Regions from separate parts of the Homo sapiens genome. Here region 2 is linked to region 1. The links are contacts of gene promoters, found by promoter capture Hi-C in human tissues and cell types (Jung and others, 2019). All regions are on one chromosome and are shown on one strand. The core of a region is centred on a gene start or on the middle of the fragment in contact, and the rest is flanking DNA. Distances in the headings are between cores, read along the strand shown. Region 1 holds the start of SLC41A2 (solute carrier family 41 member 2). Region 2 has its middle 180 kb from the start of MIR3922.

Region 1 (3,926 bases), core at 66-2,565:
GTGAGGAACACCAGGATGAGTCATTATAAAAAGCATGACTGCAGATGGCCAAGAGTGATACCGAAGCACCCTTCACCCTGAAGGTTAAGGTTAAAGCTCAAAGTCTGATCGCAAAGCATAAGGAAAAAAAAAAAGAACATGGATAAATGTATGCTGGTGTCCTTCAGCACCAGAAAAGCTGCTACTAAATCACTGGTGTGGCTTGGAATTGGTAGAAGCTTTGATTTGAGGAAAAGAGTATCATTAGCTGTGTAATTTTGAGTTGTTGTTTTAGAGACAAGGTCTCATTTTGTGGCCCAGACTGGAGTGCAGTGATGCGATCATAGCCCGCTGCAGCCTTGAACTCCTGGGCTCAGGCGATCCTCCCACCTCAGTCTCCTAGCCACTCCAGGTCTCGCTGTGTTTGCCCAGGCTGGTCTCAAATTCCTGGCCTCAAGCGATCCTCTCGCCTGGTCCTCCCGAAGTGTTGAGGTTACACGCATGAGCCACCAATCCTGGCATTATGGCATTAGCTGTGTAATTTTTAAAATAACTGTCTTCGGACCAACACCTTTCTTTTGTTCACTGGAGTATCCCTGGGGTGTGTCTCATTCCCTGAATCATACACAGTAGATGCTCAATAGTTTTGTAAATAAAATAAATGAGCTCTCGGATTTACATGCAGACTTTGGATCAGTTTGATCTAGGTTTAAAAGCAAGTGTGGGGAAACTTGAAAAGCCTGGCACCCCAGCCAACTCTTCAGCGCCCCATGCGCTTGGCGCCTACACCTGCCTGGCACGGGGAGGGTGCTATGGGGCTGCCCTAAACCTCACCCCCTCCTGCGGTGGTTCCTGCCCGTCTCGGCTCCTGCACCGCCCACACTATGCGCTGCTGGGCCGAAAGACACGTGGTTCGGTTTTAACTCCAGTCTGCAAGAAACATGACCTCAGCCAAAAAGAGGCCGCTGGTCTGAGAAGAGAAATCATGAGTCATGGATTCGGGGGTTCGGACCTTGGAGCAGGCGGTGAAGTGGGCGTGCGTGGGCTGGTGGGGAAGAGGGATGCCGAAGGAGGCCACAGCCCTTCTCTCCTGGGCAGGCTCCCCAGAAAACTGCCCCCTTGCCGTCATCCAGCGCCCCCGTTCCCGACAGCTGTCTGCCAGGGCGCGGCCGGGGTCCGGGCGGGGCGGTGCTGTCGCTCCGGGTCGCCGCCCCGCGGGCCACATCACCAAGGCCCGGGCTTCCCCGGCGGCGGCGCGGCTGCGCTTGCGCGGGGCTGCCGCGCGGGGGCGGGGCGGCGGGGAGTCAGGGGGCCGCGGGCGCCGACGGCCGGGCTGTCAGCTTGGGGCCGCAGCCGCGCGAGGAGGCGCGGGAGCAGGAAGGAGCTGTGGGCTGGGAGCCGCTGTCCTCCCCGCCACCACCGGTGCCGGGCACCAGGTGAATGCCCCTTCCATCCCCCGCCCCTGGTGTCTCGGTCTGGTCTGAGGAGACGGGGACCCTTCTCACACCGGCCGCTGCCGCCGCCGCGCTCCGGAACAGGTGACCATGGAGGGGAAGTCTCGGCTTCGGCCGCGGCGCCGCGTTCGGGCGCATCAGGTGCGGGAGGGAGGTGGGGCCGAGAGGCCTGGGCTCGGGACCCGGCGGCGGGGGCGCGGGGAGCAGAGGGAGCGGCCCCGCCCGAGCAGCCGTGCCCCCTGCGGACGCCTCTCCGGGCCGCCGGGCAGCGCCCGAGCCCAGGCCCCCGCGCCTGCCCCACCTCGGGCTGAGGGAAGCTGTTCCGCGGCCACCGCGGACAAGCGGTCCCGGGCGCCCAAGGCAGGGACAGGCGGCGGGTGGTGTATGAGTGATGGCTGAAGGTGAGCTGGGATGGAGATGCTGCGAGGCTGGCTCGGGCACACCCCAGATGCCTGTTCAGGGCTCCGCGAGTGCCCCGTCACCCTTTTCTTTCATTCTTCTCTTTATATACACGGAGCATATCTCAAATTTAAAAGCCCAAATGCTCATTTACAGAGAGAGATGACACATATCTATGTGTTACCGATATACATTGATGTGTATATTACGTATATATGTCATCTTTTTTTTGTAGTGACAATTTTTAAATTGAGATATACATCACATGCCATAAAACTCATTCTTCTAAAGTGTGGCTTTTAATATATTCACAGAGTTTTCCAAATATGACCACTATCCAGATCATCATCCCCAAAAGAAACCCTGTCTCTCTTAGTAATCACTCCTCATTTCCCCTTGACCCCACCCCACTAGCCACCACTAATCTACTTTCTGTTTATATGGGTTTGCCTGTTGTGGAAATCTCATATAAATGGAAGCGTACAATATGTGGCTTTTTGTGTCTGGCGTCGAAAGACATACTGTAATGTTTTCAAGTTTCACTCATGTAGTATGTATCAGTACTTTACTTTTTATAGCATATTAATATTGTTGTATCAGTGTACCACATTTGTTTATTCATCAGTTGATGTACATTTGGGTTGTTTCCAGTTTTTGGCCATTGTGTGTAATGCTGCTATGCACATTTGTTTACACGTTTTTGTGGACATGTGTTTTCAGTGCTCTTGGGTATATACCTAGGAGGGCAATTGCTCCGTGTTTCACTTTTTGAGGAACTGCCAAGCAAAGCAGCTGTACCATTTTACTTTCCCACTAAGCAGTGTATGAGGGTTCCGATTTCTTCACATCTTCCCCAAGGCTTGTTACTTTTTTACTGGTTATTTTTTATGATAGCCATCGTAGTGAGTGTGGAATGGTATCTCTTTGTGGTTTTGATTTGCATTTCTCTAATGATTGGGGATGCTGAGCATCTTTTCATGTGCTTATTGGCCATTCATATATTTTCTTTGGAGAAAATGTTCATATCTTTTACCCATATTTTAATTGGGTTGCTTGGCTTTTTATTTTTATTTATTTATTTATTTATTTATTTGGAGACTGACTCTCAGTCTGTCACCCAGGCTGGAGTGCAGTGGCACAATCTTGGCTCACTGCAACCTCCACCTCCGGGGTTCAAGCGATTCTCCTGCCTCAGCCTCCCAAGTAGCTGGGACTACAGGCACACACCACTATGCCCGGCTAATTTTTGTATTTTTAGTAGAGACGTGGTTTCACCATGTTGGCCAGGTTGGTCTCCAACTCCTGAATTCAAGTGATCTGCCCACCTCGGCTTCCCAAAGTGCTGGGATTACAGGCATAAGCCACCACGGCCAGTCTGGGTTGCTTAGCTTTTTATTGAGTTTTATTGTTCATTTATGGAAAAAAATTTCTGTTAATAGGTTTGGATACTGGCACTGACTTGAAAAAATCCAACCAATCTGATACCGAAAAACTTAATGCTTATTCTTGGGTAAAGGTTGAATAAGTGCCACTTCATTCTTTAAGAATACCCTACCTGTTCATTCTGGACATCTTACTGACCCCTTTACATTTACTGCCCTGGTATTTTGAGCAAAGCTACAGAAGGCATATTCCTGACTGGAGTCAAGAGAGACCACCCTTAATTGGTATTTTCATATATTCTATGCTCAATTTGAAAATCCCAGTTATCACTTTAATTACAAAAAATTTATATTAGTGGCCAGCTGAACAAACTAACAATAAATGGCAAGCACAAATCACTCAAAAATTTATGTTTAACTTCTCAGTAAAGTGGAGAATCTTGTTTTCTTAAGTTTGTGCAGTGTAGTTTTTATTACAATTATGTTCATGTGTGGGTGGTAAATAAATATTTTTGATGGCACTAAAGTTAAGAGCCACTTACAGCTAAATGAATGCTGCTGTGCTTATTTCATGGTTAATTTCCGAGCGCACACAAATTCAGCATCAGGTCTTTCATGGCCAAAAAAAAAAAAACCACTAAAAAGACCTGATGTTACCTCCCAGGAATTCAAACTCAATTTTCCACTGATCTAATATGATTGTTGTTAAAGA
Region 2 (3,929 bases), core at 846-3,345, 190 kb after region 1:
ATTTGAATTGCTTCTAGCAAGTGTAAAAGACCTCATTAAATATTCATGGAATTAAGTGGAACCCTCAGAAAGACCACACCTTACAAATGGGGTTAAATCAGCTCTAGAATAAAGGCTGCTCCAGACCCACTTTAACTGAGTTTAAAAACAAACCTGAAGAGGATCAGTCTAATCCATAAGTAATGTAATTGCCTGCCAGAAAATGTCCAACACCCCTTTAAAGAGTATAGTAAAACCCAGCCTGAAAAATGTAAAATTAAATATCCACCATCAAATTAAAAGTTGCTAGACATACAAAAAGGCAAGAAAATTGGAACAGTAATCAGGAGAAAAATTAGTCAATATAAGCAGACCTAAAAATGATAGTGATGATGGATTAGCAGATAATGACTTTAAAAGATTACACACACACACACACACACACACACTTCCACATTCTCAAGGATATAAAGGACATGTGATCATTATAAGGAAAGAAATGTAACACTTTTAAAGATCCAAATGGAACTTATAGAAATAAAAAATACAACATCTGAAATGAAAATTTCCCTGGGATGGCATTAACCGCAGGATTAAGAATCAGTAAACTTGAAGAAAGAGCAATTAGAAAATATTCAAAATGAAGCACACCAAGAAAACAAAAACTTTAAAAAATGAACAAAGCATTCATGATCAATGGAGCAACATCAAGTGGTCTAACATATAAGTAGAGTCCTAGAAAGAGTGTAGGGGCAGGAAAGAATATTTAGAGAAGTAATGGCCAAGTAATGGCCACACATTTTCAAATTTGATCAAGAATTTTTAGTTAAACAAAAGATGAGATAATTTGCTGCCAGCAGACCTATAATACAAGGAATAAGGAAATTTTTCAGGTTGAAAGAAAATGAGACCAGATGTGTGGAGTTATGCAAAAGAGCAAGGGCCAGAAATGATAAATGTGAAGGTAGATATTAAATTGTCTTTCTCACTTTTTGCATATTTAAAGGATAATTGACAGATAAAGCAAAAATGATAACATTTTATAGTTTGTAACACGTAGAACAAAATATATGACAACAAGGGCAAAAAGAAGGGGAATGGAAGTAATCTGTTGTGGGGTTCTCGTGTTAAATGTGTATATAGCATAAATTTTTAAAGATAGACTGTAATAAGTTTAAATACACATATTATAAATCCAAAGGCAACCACTAAACACAAACCAACAAAGAAATAGCTAATTAGCCAAAAGTAAATGGAAAACTAGAATAATAAAAATACCCAATATAAGCAAAGTAAAGGAAAAAAAGGGAAAAAGGAAGAAAGATAAGAAATAGAAAACAACAAGATAGTAGGTTTAAACCTAACTATATCAATAATTACATTAAATGTAAATAGTCTAAATATTCCAACTAAAAGGAAGAGGTTCTCATATTAGATTTTTTTTTTAAAAAATATCTGGCCAAGTGTGGTGGCTCATGCCTGTAATCTGAGCACTTTGGGAGGCCAAGGTGGGAGGATTGCTTGGAGCCAGGAGTTCAAGACCAGCCTGGATGACATTGCAAGATCCCGCCTCTACAAAAAGTAAAAAATTACTTGGGAAAAGGGTGTGCACCTGTAGTCTGGCTACTTGGGAGGCTGAGGCAGGATGATCTCTTGAGCCCAGGAGTTAGAGGCTGCAGTTAGCTATGATCACACCATGCATTCCAGCCTGGGAGACAGAGTGAGACCCTGTCTCTAAAAATTTTTTTAATTAAATTTAATTTGATTTTAAAAGACCCAAATATAGGTTGTTAACAAAGAAAGCTACTTTAAACATAAATACACAGATAGGTTAAAAGTAAAAGAGAGAAAATGGTATATAATGCAAACACTGAAAAAAGAAAGCTGGCTTAGTATAGTAGTATCAAAGTGGACTTCAGAACAAGGAATACAGCTGGGGAAAAAGAGGGACATTTCATAATAATAAAGGAGTTAATTCATCAAGAAAACATAACTTTAAATGTGTATGCAACTAATTTTTAAAGTTTTAAAATTAAGCAAAAATTGAGAAGAGAAATAGATTAATCCACAATTATAATAGGACATTTTAATACTCCCCTTTTCCAATAATTGATAAATAAATGTTCAGAAAATGAATAAGATATGGAAGACTTGAAGAACATTATCCACCAGCTTGATCCAGTTGACAGTTATAAAACCTTCCATCCAACAATAGCGGAATAAACATAGTTTTAAAGTCCACAGGGAACATATACCAAGATAGATCCTATTCTGGGCCTTAAAACAAGTCTCTATGAAGTTAAAAGGACAAAAATCATACAAAATATGTTATCTGACGACAATGGAATTTAAGTAGAAATAAAATGAAGATATCAAAAAAATTCCCAGCACACTTAATAATCTATGAATTAAATAAATAACTATAAAGAAAACTAGAAAATACTTTAAACTGAATAAAAATGGAAACACAATTTGCCAAAATTTATGGGATGCAGCTAAAGTAGTACTTAGAAGGACAATTTTAGCCTTAAGTGCTTATATTAGTAAAGAAGAAAGGACTCAAATTAATAATCTAAAGTTCTGGCATAAACTAGAAAAAGAAGAACAAATTATTCACAAGGCAAACAGAAGGAAGTAAATAATAAAAATGGGAGCACAAATCAATGAAACCAAAAACAAACAAAAAAAGGCAGAGAAAATCAACAAAACCAAAAGATTGTTCTTAGAAAGAATCAATAAAACTGATAAATTTCCAGCCAGACAATGGAAAAAAGAGAGAAGACATCAACTACCAATATCGGGAATGAAAAACAGAATATAATTACTTATCCAACAGGCATTAAATGTTAATAAGAGAAACTTATAAACAACATTATGCCAATAAATTCAGCAACTTAGATGAAACAGATATATTCCTTCAAATGTATTTTTACCAAAGCTCATTCAAGAAAAATTAGATTACTTAAGTAGCTTACTTAAAATTAATAATTTTATTTATCTATTAAATATTTATCTATTAAATAAAAATAATTTTTAATTAAAAACCTTCCCACAGTGAAAATTCCAGGAGCAGATAGCTTTGCAAGTGAGTTCTACCAGATATTTGAGGAAAAAAACGATACAATTTCTACACAAATTCCTCCAGAAAATAGAAGAGGAAGGAATATTTCCCAAGTTGTATTATGAGGCCGGCATTACCCTCCCATCAAAACCAGACAAAAGCATCACAAGAAAAATATAGGGTGATATTTTCTAGGAACATAGGCGAAAAAATTTAAATAAAATATTAGCAAATTGACCACTTTAATCTGATAAAGGGCATCCACAAAAAACCTACAGCTAGAATCATACTTCATAGTAAAAAACTGAAGCTTTCCTCTTAACCACTTTTATTAAACCTGGTATTGGAAGTCATAGCCAGTGCAATAAAGAAAAACATAAAAGCATACTTGGGGAATTATAATACCTGACTTCAAGGCCTCCTATAAAGCTATAATAATTAAGGCAGTGTGATATTGGCATAGGAACAGGCATATAGATCGACAGAACAGCAGAGAGAGTCCAGAAAGCAGCTCGCATATATGTGATCACTTGATTTTTGACAAAGGCACCAATGTAAAAATAGTACAGCTCTTTCAACAAATGGTAATGGAACAACTGGATATTTATAAGGTCTGAACTATGACCCTTACTTCATATATACAGTACTAACTAAATGGTCATAAACGTAAATGTAAAAGCAAAAATTATGACACTTCTAAAAGAAAACATTGGATAAAATCCTGGAGACTTTAGGTTGGGTAAAGATTTCTTACACAGGACACAAAAAACCCAGCTGTAAAATAAAAATTGATAAATTGGACTTCATCAAAATTTAAAATGTTTGCTCTTTGAAAGACATTAAGAAAATGAAAAGGGCAAACCACAGACTGAGAGAAAATATTTGTAAA

What was found. The method cuts DNA at HindIII sites, captures the fragments that hold promoters and counts their contacts. A contact is called where the count stands out against the background at its distance.
Region 2: a contact is called between a fragment that was not itself captured here and the fragment with the promoter of SLC41A2 in region 1, in 3 of the 25 tissues and cell types used here (adrenal gland, lymphoblastoid cells and thymus).

The regions. Positions count from the first base shown.
Region 1 is chr12:104,955,679-104,959,604 of GRCh38, reverse strand. It overlaps SLC41A2 (solute carrier family 41 member 2), which reads left to right and starts at 1,315. Exons shown (of 11, transcript NM_001352171.3): 1 at 1,315-1,517. RefSeq lists silencers at 1,137-1,406, 1,597-1,926. The HindIII fragment of the contact is 10,569 bases long and covers 1-3,926 here.
Region 2 is chr12:104,769,971-104,773,899 of GRCh38, reverse strand. No RefSeq gene overlaps it. Among named protein-coding and RNA genes, the nearest start is that of MIR3922, 180 kb to the right of the region's middle. The HindIII fragment of the contact is 6,951 bases long and covers 1-3,929 here.